Regions from separate parts of the Homo sapiens genome. Here regions 2 and 3 are each linked to region 1. The links are contacts of gene promoters, found by promoter capture Hi-C in human tissues and cell types (Jung and others, 2019). All regions are on one chromosome and are shown on one strand. Each heading gives the region's core, a stretch centred on a gene start or on the middle of the fragment in contact. The rest is flanking DNA. Distances are from core to core; before and after follow the strand shown. Region 1 holds the start of SGCG (sarcoglycan gamma). Region 2 has its middle 24 kb from the start of FGF9. Region 3 has its middle 17 kb from the start of MICU2.

What was found. Contacts are between HindIII fragments. The study calls those that stand out against the background at their distance.
Region 2: a fragment that was not itself captured here is called in contact with the fragment with the promoter of SGCG in region 1 in 1 of the 25 tissues and cell types used here (mesenchymal stem cells).
Region 3: a fragment that was not itself captured here is called in contact with the fragment with the promoter of SGCG in region 1 in 1 of the 25 tissues and cell types used here (lymphoblastoid cells).

What each region holds. Positions count from the first base shown.
Region 1 is chr13:23,177,881-23,182,653 of GRCh38, reverse strand. SGCG (sarcoglycan gamma) reads right to left here and starts at 1,675. Exons shown (of 8, transcript NM_000231.3): 1 at 1,579-1,675. The HindIII fragment of the contact is 3,028 bases long and covers 1,117-4,144 here.
Region 2 is chr13:21,645,002-21,649,346 of GRCh38, reverse strand. No RefSeq gene overlaps it. Among named protein-coding and RNA genes, the nearest start is that of FGF9, 24 kb to the left of the region's middle. The HindIII fragment of the contact is 5,535 bases long and covers 1-4,033 here.
Region 3 is chr13:21,619,012-21,623,738 of GRCh38, reverse strand. No RefSeq gene overlaps it. Among named protein-coding and RNA genes, the nearest start is that of MICU2, 17 kb to the right of the region's middle. The HindIII fragment of the contact is 7,337 bases long and covers 1-4,727 here.

The sequences.
Region 1 (4,773 bases), core at 426-2,925:
CCCATAAAACTATCTACAGCATAACATATAAAATTAAAAATGAAGCTGGAATCCAAAATGGCCAAAGTAGCAAGTGATGGATCCTGCAATCCTCATGAGAACGTCGTAGAACTATCTGGCCCTGCAGTAGGTCTGGAGAAGAATAAAGCCAGACAGGTGCTATAGAGGCTGAGAGAAGGGGAGGGAGGGAGGGAGAGACAGGAAGGTGTCATGAAGGTCAAGGTGGGTTCTGAAGGAGCAGGAGAGTAGCAGAGTCATCCTCAGGACGCTGTAGTTTCTCCCCTCCCACTGGGAAACCACAGCCCTGGTGCCTCAAGCTGAGAAGACACAAGCGCTGTGATGAGCCACAGATTAGGGAGTGGAGGGAGATCCTCAGGCCCTATAAGTTATGCAAAACTGAACACATTGGGAACCCACTATAATTTACAACTATCATTTAATTTTTAATGCAATTTAATAACAACTTAGTTTAATGACTAGCAAGTACATTTTTTAAAGGACAATATGGAACAATTTCATTTTCCGCATTTTAACTGCAAGCTTAGCTGATATCTTTTGGACACCTGAATTTGTTAGTCTTTGGAATGCTATATCTAACTACATTGAAATGCTACTTTTCATTTGTCTTTGAAAGACAATCTGAAATGAATCCTAGAACCTATAAAACGAACCCCAACTTGTAGCATTACTTTTTAAATTCCACAAAGGTGCCTTTTTGTACCTACAAAATGTTTGCAAGAAAATAAGCAAAAAACAAACGGTGTATTCCGTAGTTCGTTTTTGTACTGGTCTGCTGGCAAATCTTTCAGTCAGCTGAGTTATATTTTTCCGTATTATTTTTTTCTAATCCTTCCTTTAAAAAAATTGTGTTTGCTAGTTGTCATGTATTAATTTAGAAAACGCAAAGAAAGAACTCATAACTTCAGTAAGCTGAAGCATTAGCACATGTGTACTTTTACCCCACTTATGTTTATTTTTTCATACATATTTTGAGCAGTATTTTATATTTTCCAGATTTAGGGAAAGAAACATTCTTCCCTTTTCACTCCAAAAATAGTGAAGGAGTCAGGTTGCTATTTTGCTCTTGTTTTGTTTATTTCCAACTTATAAAACCACTGGACTTTTGTTGTCATTCATTTTAGTTTATTTCTTAGTGTCTATAACAAAACTATCAAGAAAATCTAAAGCAAATGTAATTCTACCACTAAAGTTTAAGAGCAGAATTAGAAGTAGGTGATCTTAAAGATAATACTTTGTTTAAATTAACTACAGGATCCAATTCAATGCCCAATAATACAGAAATGCTACCTTTGGCATTCTACAAATTAAAAATGTTAGAAATATAGGATTATGCTAAAAATATGTAGCATATTTGTAGTCAGAATAACTTAGTTGAAATGAGAATTTCATTGATACTTGATATGTCATTATGTTGTGATACACCAATTTATTCAACATTATTTTAAATTTATTATTATGCCACCAAAGAAGAAAGAATATTAAGAAACCTCTTAAGCGTTTGGTTTTTAGGTAGTACTTTGTACTGATATAAAATCTAAGTTAAAACTGAGCACTTACCTTAGATATTAAGAAAAGCACACTGGCGAATGAACTACAGCTGGCCCGAGCTCTACCACAGACAGAATGTTTCAAACTTTTCTATGACTTACAGAATGAGAGCAAAGGATGAAGCTTCAGCAACTGTCCCTGGAGAAAGGGCTCTCACGAGTTTCGCCCTGTCTCATGTTTCATCCCCTCACATTAGCAACAGACGTGTCTAATTTTACTCAGTGACATAAACAGTTCATACCACACTTAAAATTTTTTGGGCACCAATTCCAGGACACAGCTCTTCGCATGCCAAAAACAAACCAAAACAAACAAACAAACAAGAAACCAAACTCTTCTTCTTACAAAACCAACTTTCCAACATTTAAACCCTAAAGCATGATAGTTTAATGTAATTATAACTTTCTTAAAAAAACTTTACCTCAAACAAACAGCAGAAAACTTCTAAGACTGGTTTCCATTAGAAACTAATGTTGATAAAATTTTACGAAAAATCTCTTCAAATTAACATGCAAGTTAGAACTTGTGACTATTACCTATATACTAGTCTCATCCAAATGAACGGCATATTACCATGTAACAGTGACTCTTTAAAAATCACTTTCCCTAAGCCTCTTTAAGTGAAAAACTTTTAACATCTGAGGAGAAAATCTTAAACAAAGATCACCATAATAGAAGGTAAACAAACTCTGCATGTTAAAATTATGACAGTTCTTTTCTAGTAAACTAACATTTCTATTGTGTTTAACAAATTATGTGAATGTAACAAATGTGACCTTAAATTGTCTTTATGTTTATTTAAGAGTAATTAGGTCATTCCATTTTATAAGGTGTAAAGACAACAGAATAAATATCGAACTTCTGAATAATTTTAATATTTTATTTTGCATTATTTTTATGTGACCTGGTTTGCAGCAGGATTAAAACTTACTAAATTATATACTTCATATTTGCATTTTAGTACTAAACCTTGAATATAAGAAGCAGTGCCTTAGTATACATGCACACAGAGATGGGAACAATCAGATACTGGGGCCTGCTTGAGGAAGGAGGGAGGGAGAAAGGTGGGGTTCGGAAAACTGTCTATCGGGTACTGGGCTTACTACCTGGGCGATGAAATTATTTGTACATCAAATCCTGGTGATATGCAATTTATCTGTGTAACAAACCTGCACATGTACCCCTCGAACCTGAAATAAAAAATGAAGAAAAAAAGGAGCAATGCAATAACAATGCATATGCTTCATTCTCATTTTATTTTCTTCTCAGGAGACTTTTCTCTTCATTCTGCTTATTTATACTCTACCATAATTTCTTTTGAAATTTGATACTTCTATCATACCAGCAGCTGCAGGCCTTAAATTACAAGCTGATACAGCTTCAAATAATCTTACATTTGTAAGACATTTTAAAACCTTTCATGAATTCTCTGCACATTAGTACTTCTACTTTGGGAATTCAGCTAGACATAAAATTATAGGACAACTATCAATTTTAAACAAAAATAATATATTAAACAATAATGATATGAAATGTATTTTTGTATGAGTGTATGTCTGAAAAGTCAAAGTCTGAAACTGCTAACTCAATATTCTGATTGAAATGTCATGCATGTAAAGGTTACAATTGAGATACCTCTTCATCAATCGTAAATTGGTTTTGTTGCAATGAACTTTTCAGTGTTTTGGGAACTGCTTTGTAAAAATGTTAGTCAGGTGATGTGTTTGATCCCCACTCATATTTACAGATTCATTTAATACTATCCACACCTATGTTTAGTAGGGCAGAAGAATCACATAAAGAAGCCTTTGATTTTATCAGTTAGTTGAAATTATTAAAGCAAGACCTTCAGTTTGTAATGTAGGCAGCTTAAGTTTGTAACTCACACACACACATTTTGAAATGTTCTCAAAGGAATCATAATACTTTAAAGCTCCAAGAGACCTTAAAGAAATCTAGTCTAACAGTCATTTAGGTGTAAAATAATTTGTTCCAGATTACAAAGCTAGTAAGCCTATGGGTAGAAGTGACTTTGAAAGTCCTTAGGCCTAATTTGGTGCTTGGGTGCTCCACTGTAAACGTGCTCCAACCATGGTCCTACGAACCTATGGGGACCTTTCTGGCTTCCCCCTCATTCTCCCTCTGCTTCCATTTTTGACTACTGCAGTCATCAGTTAGCGCTGACCTTTCTTCCTGACACCATCTCATCAAGCTCTTCCTTCAGTTTGGGCATTGATAACCCTGTTTCTGGCTTAAGTGGTTGGGTTCGGGGGATCACTTTCAGAACCAGTGAAAACAAGGAATTTCAGTAGTGATGTCGTCAGTTTTGGAGAAATCATTTCTATTTTGAGATGAAGTAAGAGGTGAGGTTATCTGTAGAGAGAGAATGTGGAAATAGGGGAATGAGAAAGTTCAACATTTGAAAATAACGGAGTATTTTAATGATTTGGGTTGTCAATTGACTAGTGAAACATATTAGGCCATGTCCAAGGCCCAAATGAAGTTATAAATATATGGATAGTAGTCTCATTTTAATAGTTCTCATGACGTTATAAGCTAACTGCAGTCATGGATTACTGTGACTAAATCCCTCAAAACTGCTCAGCCTTTCCTCCAATACAACACGCATTGTCTCCCCACAATTCCTCCAATACAACACCCACTGCTCTTTTGTCCATCTTTCCTTCCTCGGTTGACGATGCCATCCCCCAGAATGTCACAGAAGACAGACTTAGGGCTCTCCCTCACTCACCAGTCTACCAGTCACTAACTTCAGTGGATTCCCTCTGCAGAACCTCCTGCTCTGCTTGCCTTCCCTCCTTGCTCCTGCCTGACTTGGAGATTCACCTTCTCTGGCATCACCTATTGCTATAGCCAAGTACCTACTTCCTCTGCTTCCGGGAACTGCCAGCCCCCATCCTACACACCTAGGGACTGCCAGAGGAATGATGAGAACAGGTAATTCTGTCCATATCACTCCTTGGCCTAAAGCCCTTCATCAAGCCTCCAGGTGCAGGACCAAGTTCTTGACCTGACACACATGCCTTCAGTGATGGGCCCTGTTCATCTCTTCTGTGCCTTGTCCTGGGGAGTTTGGAATCACAAAAGTGACAATGCCCTTGGGTGCCTGGCTATCTTTGACTAGGGTTACCTCCCATCTTTTTCTACTGATGAACTATAATTTAACTTTTAAAAGTCTGCTCA
Region 2 (4,345 bases), core at 17-2,516, 1.5 Mb after region 1:
TTTTAAAGTTACATATCTCCGGAGATTTATTCAATTTTCACTTGACATTTTTGAATTGAACTTACACATTAAACACCATTTGCTCATTTCAAAATCTCTTTTGTCTCAAAAGAGGAATAAGAGGAAGTTTTTTTAGATTGTAACAGTAGCATCCTCATGCCCCATGTGTCCAATGTATAATGAACACAGCACATATTTTCTGCTAACAATCCAATATGTTTGTTGAGAGGAAAAATTGGCTGAAAATACACTGAAAAGCATGTATTTTTCATTGCCCATGATATTAGTCAGAATTCTCCACAGAAACAGAATCAACAGGAGATATATAAAGATATATATAATAAGCTAGAGAGATTTTCTTATAAAGAATCGGTTCACATGATTATGCAGACTGGCAAGTCCAAGATCTGCAGAGCAGATTTCCCGCTTCAAGGCCAAAGGCCAGAAGCTGCTGTAGAACCAGGAAGGGGCCATGTCTCAATCCAAAGGCCATCAGGCCCGCAATTCGGCCACACAGATATATTCTAAATGATTGCTTTTTAGTGTGGTAGAAGATTGTTTAGTGCCATGGAAAGGTTTCTTAAATACTATTGACCAGGTCTCTGCAATCATAGACATGAATGTTTATAGTACCTTGAGATATAACTCATCCCAGCCTATAAATTTGAACCCAGTTAGAGTGCTCAGGTCCTCACTTACTAAACCCATAAAATAGAATCATATGGCCAGAAGGAAACTTTGTGATCATCTCATCCAAATCCCCGCTAAGAGTGACTTAAGGAACAGTAAGGCAGTGCTTTCAATTTATCTGAAATTATTGATGGAGACTTGATTCCAGACACTTTTAAAGTAATAAGCATTTAAATATGAAATCAGGATCTGATGCTGACCACAAAATGAATAGGGAAAGTACAGACCTGTGTTGGTAAATAATGTTCCACTATTGCTATTTTTTCTGAAAGTCAAGATGGCATAGGGAGACCAGTCGACACTCTGTAGAGACTGTTGCTAGCATCCAAAGGAAATTCCAGGAGTAGGTCTTACTCCTGGCTGTACCTCAGGACTATGTGTGGAGTGACATAAAATTACAGTTGCATGGGACCCATCTCAGACTTACTGCTGAGATTTCCCTCCCCTTCAGTAGAGAATGCTAATTGAGAATTCACTGAAACTTTTGGCTTGCTTTATTTAGACGTGCCAAGGCAAAAAGCAGAAAAAAAACACTGGACATGCAAATTACAATTTTTTTAAAGGCCTACAAGTTCAAAAGCAGTGTTTTCAGAATTACTTTTCTCCACCTGTAAAATAAAGTTTTGATCAGAGAAAGTCTTATAAAGTCACTTCTGAAGATAATCACCAAAAAGTAAAAATACAGAGTATTGATTTTAAGTTTATCTATGTCTGGGACCAACCTTTCAGAATTCAGTTATAAACTTAGAATACATCTATCTGTTCACAATACTTATATGTCTAAATGCCACCCCATTGGAGTTTAAAGCTCTGATATTGACAAAAATATTCTTCCCGTACCATGTGGTATGCATGAACTGCAACAAACTCCAAAGAAACACTGGTTCTTATTGCCAGGATATGACTTTTAATTATGAATCTGAAGAAAATGTGGCACATATACACCAAGGAATACTATGCAGCTGTAAAAAAGGATGAGTTCATGTCCTTTGTAGGGACATGGATGAAGCTAGAAACCATCATTCTGAGCAAACTATCCCAAGGACAGAAAACCAAACACCGCATATTCTCACTCATAGGTGGGAATTGAACAATGAGAACACTTGGACACAGGTGTTCACACCAGGGCCTGTTGTGGGGTGGGGGGAGGGGGGGAGGGATAAGAACTTCTCCTACTGGTGTAAATGTAAATGACGAGTTACTGGGCGCAGCAGCACACCAACATGGCACATGTATACATATGTAACAAACCTGCACATTGTGCACACGTACCCTAGAACTTATACTAAAAAATAAATAAATACATACATAATAAAAAAAATTATGAATCTGTTACTTTTGTACTGAGAAGTGAGGACAGTACAAACTCCAACAGAACCATTATAAGAAGAATGACTATAAAACACATTAAGATCATTGGATAAAAGTGCCACATAAAGACAATCTCTGAAGCCACAGCATTATTACAACTGCAGTAACCAACATAATCAGAAAATTTTTCTTTCATTTTGCAAAATCAGTTACTGAAATAAGTTTCCTCTATTGAAAAAGTTGATGAACTAATTATTCTTAAGCTTAATTCAATAATTTATCAAACACCCTCTTTCTCACAGTCAACAGCCTCCTATAACTAACTGGCTGCCAAATGAGGATGCTGCTACTGAACCACTCTCTGGGGACAGAGCGTTCTAGAGCTTTACCTGGAAATCACATGGGATCCTTGTTTAAATGCATGTTCCTAAGATCAGCCTCATAGAGATTCCAATTCAGCATCTCTGGGCGGGGTCGGAGGTAGGGGGAGTGAAACAGCTGCATATTTAATGCATACCCTAAGTGATTCGGAATGGTGATCAGGAAACACATACTTGGAGAGACTCTGCTATACAGTGTAGCCTTTGACTGGTTTCACCTGTTGTGATTTTTGCTGATTGACTTGCATTCTCTCACCTGGCTTCCTTCTTAACCTAATGGTTCAAAAACTTGGCTGAGTGTTGGAATCATGTGGGAGCCAGACCTCACCCTCAAAGATCCTGAGTAAATTAGTCCAGGGGGACCCCACCTCCATGAAGTTTTGTAAAGCTCCCCAGGTGTCAGTCCAGTTTGAGAACGTCATCAGTAGTCTGCAAACCAGCTGTAACTGGCCCCCTGGCACACTCTGCCAGCCTCATCACCAAGTTGTAAGTACCTGAGCCAACTGCATGTTAGGGTGCCCAGGGCCAAGACCCTAACTTCAGGGGACAACAAAATCACAGAGATTACAGACCTTCATGCTAAACAGAGAGTGGCCCTTCTGAACTGAAGCCTCCCCATCCTGGACACAATCCCAGAGAGGCCCTTTGGGGACACTGCTCTTTACTCTCCACCAAAAGAAATCCAAGCCCAGTCAAATAAGAGGGCTTTCAGTCAGAGAAAATAGGATTTTTCCACTAGTAAAGGAGGGTGCCACTCCCTCATGAGAACTCTTCTGCTTTAGCTAGCCAAAAGCAAAGAAAGAAATAATAAATACTTAAGTATTTATTAAATTATATATATTACTAAATATTTATTAAATATTTAATAAATGCTTAAGATATTTATTTATATATTTATTTTTGGCTACTAAAACAGAAGTTTTCATAAGGCTGAGGGACCCTCCTTAACTAGGAATATATACATATTTGTGTGTGTGTATATATATAATACACACACACACACAAAATATATAGGGTATTGCAAAAGTAATGCAAGCTTGTTTTAAAACACTCAAACAACTCAGAAGTGTGGGAAGTAAAATTAAACAACCCCTCCCGTCCTCTCAAAGGCACTCACTAGTACTTGGTGCAGATCCTCCCAGAACTTTTTTGAAGTACTGACATATATGCATAGGGTTGTTCCTTTAATAGGAACAAAGTGTACATATTGATATTCAGCATGATTTTTAAAAATTAATACTATACCCTGGCTATCCTCCTCAGTCAGAACCTTCAGGCTTGTCTCATTCTTTGTTAATGGCCACTTCATTCTCCATAGTATCCATGTACCATGATTTAAGAACTTCTACTGGTGGATTTCTGGATTGTCAACAGTTTTTCAGTCTTCCAGACAATGCCATGATGAACATACTTAAAAACTGAGCACAGTTCCCTCCTGAAGTGAACACCTCTCTTTGCACAACTGCAGGGAGTGGGGCTTGGAGAAGACAAAAGATATGCCCTGGAGTTGAGGTGAAAGGCCTGCCCCAAATGACGGCTCCTTTAGCATAGTTCTTGGTCTTACAGTTCTCCTTGAGGAGGCTTTCCTTGCCACTTTGTAGAATTCAGCTCAGACCCATAAACCTGGACTGAGCGCCCACTAAGTGCTCAGCCCCATGCTAGATGCTAGGGATCCAACACTATGTGGGACGTGGTCTCTGCCCTCAAGAAGCTCTGCCATAATGCCAGGTGTCAAGTCCCAATCTAGTAATAGAAACAGCTGCAAAGGGAGAGCCAAGGGGGACAGAATGGCCTCACCAGCCCCTGATCTAAACCTCTGCTCAAACGTTCACTAATTATGCTGCCAGAATAACCCAGCTGCTATCTCAATACCTGCCTAACTTTCAAGAGATGACATCACTCTAAGAACATCTCAAACATTTCTCCTGTGGGAGATATGTTGACTGTACATCTTGCAAAAACCA
Region 3 (4,727 bases), core at 15-2,514, 1.6 Mb after region 1:
AAATGTAAGGCCTCCCAATGAAGCCCATTCCATTTTGGGCAACCATTGGGGAAATCATAGTCAAATTACATATAACTAGAAATGTCTTTTACTTGATTAGAAGGACTTAATTATAGCAGGTAAAAGTATTTTTCCAGTTCAATGGCTGCCTGGAAAGCCCTGTAATCTGTCCTATCCAAATTTTTGTGTAAATATATTATACAACATTTCAATGACCCATTAGAAAATTTTAAATCCCCCAATAATGAGACATCCTTCAATCAAATACTTCTTTCAATTAGGCCCTGAGGGTGATACATACTTCTTTCCCTAGAATCCTTAAGTCTTTTCTTACCCTATTAATGTTTTTCCTTTTTGTATACCTTTTCCTCTTTAGGCAGTTATGCTTAGTAAATGCTAATGCTTTTGTTTCTGTGTCTCCCAATACAATAAATTTACTTCAAATGTGGATAATATAGCATTTATTTATTTTTATTTATTTATTTATTTATTTATTTTTTTTTTGAGACAGAGTCTTGCTCTGTCGCCCAGGCTGGAGTGCAGTGGCACGATCTCGGCTCACTGCAAGCTCTGCCTCCTGAGTTCAAGCCATTCTCCTGCCTCAGCCTCCCGAGTAGCTGGGACTACAGGCGTCCACCACCACGCCTGGCTAATATTTTGTATTTTTTAGTAGAGACGGGGTTTCAGCATGTTAGCCAGGATGGTCTCGATCTCCTGACCTCGTGATCCACCCACCTCAGCCTTCCAAAGTGCAGGGATTACAGGCGTGAGCCACCGCACCCAGCCAATAATATAGTATTTCTATAGTATAAAAAGAGCTCGTCATCCCCTTTCTTTGTAAACTTCATTCTTTAGTTAATACTCTTCATCTCTGAGCCTAAGAACCTAACCCTGACTGCTCTTCAAAATTCCAAAAATGCATTTTCACTACCTGCTGGACTTCCCTACATCATTATTACAAAAATACTTCAGAGGCCAGGTGCCATTGCTCATGCCTGTAATCTCAACACTCTGGGAGGCCGAGGCAGGCAGATCACCTGTGGTCAGGAGTTTGAGACCAGCCTGGGCCAACATGGTGAAACCCCATCTCTACTACAAATACAAAAATTAGCCGGGTATGGTGGCGGGCACCTGTAGTACTAGCTACTCAGGTGGCTGAGGCAGGAGAATCACTTAAACCCGGGAGGCAGAGGTGGCAGTGAGCCAAGATCACACCACTGCACTCCAGCCTGGGCCACAGAGCAAGACTCTGATTACAAAAAATAATAATAATAAGCTTCAGATACCACTAGACCAAAATGAAGTTGTCACTCTCCCTTCTTCACCCCATCTCTTCTCCCTTCATAAAGCTGCTCCTCCCTGGGCCCTTCCTCGTTCATGGCAAAGCAATGCCAAGATTCTAATTGCTCCGTGGTTTCCCTCATCTTCAACATCCCATAACCTGCCAGGACCTTTTGATTCTACCTCTACCTTATGCCTCCGGGCTCCCCATTCACCACATCCTCTGCTCCTGTCCTCAGTCAACTCTTCATTTTTGGACTCTTAGACCATTTCAACAGCCTTCTAACTGATCTCCTAATCCTCCAATTAGAAACTTTGGTGATTCGCCTCTAAACATAGAATTCAAAGCACAGTGCTTCACTCTTGGATCTTTAAACGTCTTTTCAGCCTTATCTTGCATGACACTTCTCTTGAACCACACTCAACAGTTGTTGGTGTTCTCCCAAAATATGGTCTATTCTGTCTTGCCTCAGCAGCTTTGCTCAAGTAGCTCTAGTGGTAACGTCTTTTGAGGAATGTCTACTATCGGTGTACTTGCCACTTTTGAATTCCCAACACAAACTCTATTACCTCTTCTAAGAACACTCCCAGTCATAATTAATCCCTTCTTTCTCAAATATATCCCAAACACTTTGAACCTTTCTTGCAGCATTTATCCCATTTTACCTTATGTAAGAGTTGTTTATATATTTCTCCCAAAACTGCAAACTTCTTGAAAGCAGGGACTGTCTTATTTATTTCTGTATCATCCACTCATGGTAGCAAAATCCTTTGTTCATAGTGGGCATATTATAAATATTTGTAATAGGAATGACCAAAAGTCTCATTGAAATCAGGGTAGATTAACCAGTAACATGAGCCAACCCTTTAAGAAATGTTAAGAGATGTCCTTCCTGTTTTCTTAATTTGTTTCTATGTCTATATATTGGTTGATAAGATACTGTACATTGCTACCATGTACTCTGGAAATGAGTAAGACAGGATGGAAGATTTAAGAAAACTGGCTCAAGCAAACCTTGGTTGACATCAGGCACAAAGAACTTTACAAACCTGCTCTACAGTTTGTCCTCAAAATGCTGCATTCGAGTTGTTTTGTTCATAAATGATGAAATTTCATAAAGTACTGATAATCAAATGGGGAAACGTAAATGTCCTTTGGAAGTTCTTTGATCACATAATGTATTTCTTCCTTGCTTTGGGGCTCAAAGAATGAGGATGACAGAGAGACTGAATGGAAAATGGAATGGTGAGGGCAGAGAGAGAAGAAGCAAGTGGTAGGAAAGAGTGGAGGGAGAAAATAAAAGGCACAAAAAGCAACTTAAAAGGACCAGAAGTGATTTATGACCCGTTTGGTGTCTAGTGTGCTCATCACTCTGCCCTCTGGTCCCAGACTGTCTTTGATCTTCCTCACGGCTCATCCCATCTGCTGCCTGGAGGAGCTGGAAGGACCAAGGGTCAGAGTAATGTTATTTCTTCTCTTGTTAAACCTCACGCTCTCCTCTCTCTGCTGTCCTGCTTCCTTACTACTTGTATCAGGGCTGGAATCAATGACCTGCCTGTATAGTCTGTATATATATTTGAGGGAACTGTTGTGGGTCGAACTGTGTCCTCCAAAAACATATGCTCAAGTTATAACCCCTGGTACCAGTGAATGTGACCTTATTTGGAAATGAGTCAGATGTAATCCACTTTGCTGATGCAGTCAAGCCAAGATGAGGTCCTACTGGATTAAAATGGACCTTAATCCAGCGATTGGCATTTTTTTTCTTTCTAATCTTTTTTTGAATCTTTTTTTTTAATTTCAACTTATATGTTAGATACAGGGGGTCCATGTGCAGGTTTATTACATGTGTATTTTGCACTCAGGTAGTGATGATAGTACCCGATGGGTAGTTTTTCAACCCACACCTCCCTCCCTCCCGTGTCTGGTGGTCCACAGTGTCTGTTGTTCCCATGTTTATGTCCATGTGTCCTAAATGTTTAGCTCCCACTTATAAGTGAGAACATGTGGTATTTGGTTTTCTGTTCCTGTGTTAATTCGCTTACAATTATAGCCTCCAGCTCCATCCAGTGACGGGTATCTTTTTAAGAGAAAGGAGAAGGAGATTGGGCACAGACACACAGAGAAGGCAGCCCTCTGCTGAGGGAGGCAGGGACTGGAGCGATGCAGCTTAGGCCAGGCAAGCGCCAGCGAGGGCCAGTAACCTGCAGAGCTGGCAAGAGGCAGGGAGGTACGCGTCCCTCGAGCCCTCAGAGAGCCCTGCTGACACTTTGACTTCAGACTTCTGGCCTCCAGCACTGTGAGAAAATACATACCTGTCGCTTTAAGCCACCCAGTGTGTGGTGATTTGTGTGGCAACCCTAAGAAACTGATACAGGGACTTAAGGATGTTGAGTATTCAGAGGAGATCTTAGACCACAGCATAAAGCCATACAAGTTTCTCAGCTCCTGAGATAGATGTTAATCCATTTGGCCCAGATTTCTAAACAATGTGGTTTGCTCTACTTAGAACATATTTTGTAATATTAAGTTCTGGCTTTGCAATTTCATTTTATTAATGTTTAAATCTCAACCAGAACAATGAAGCTGTCACTGAAGAAGAGAAGAAAATAGAAGAGTCAGCAAATGTCTGGTATCTAGTAGGTGTTTAATAAAAATACTTGTTGAATGAATGAATGGAAACAATTATCAGAAAATGTCATAAGACATAAAAGCAGAACCTCTGATCCTGATCCCTGAGCACAAAAGTAAGATTTCACAGGCTGAGCTGAGTAACTCAAGAGCAGATGTCTACCACAGGCGGAGCCACAAAATCTAAGAGTAGAGCACCCACCATAAAAGGTATATAAAGAAGTAGACTAGGCTACAGCACTGCAGAAAGCACTATATGCTCAGGTGGATAGAATGTTTTCCTGAGCGGCTGGGTTCTAGGAAGGATTGGCGGGGTAAGGTGGTGTGTACCCACTGCTCATAGAAAATGTGAGTCAAAAATATGGGTTATAATGTGAACAAGTAATGTTTCATCTTTCTTTGTTTTTCCCCGTACTTTACCTTTTCATCATTTGTGTGTTGCCTTTCTTTCTTTTGAGACAGTGTCTCTCTGCTGCCCAGATTGGAGTAGAGTGGCGTGATCTCCAGCCTCAGCCTCCCAGGTAGCTGGGATTACAGGTGTGCACCACCAAGCCCAGCTAATTTTTTTGTATTTTTAGTAGATACAGGGTTTCACCATGTTGCCCAGGCTGGTCTTGAACTCCAGAGCTCAAAGTAACCCACCCACTTTGGCCTCCCAAAGTGCTGGGATTACAGGTGTGAGCCACCACGCCCAGCCGTAAGTTGCCTTTCAATAGACAGAAGATGTATTAATTGTCAGAGGCTCTGAGGTACTGAGCCATTCATTATCCCTGGCCAACCATGAGAATCTCTCCCTCCCCTGTACACAAAGACC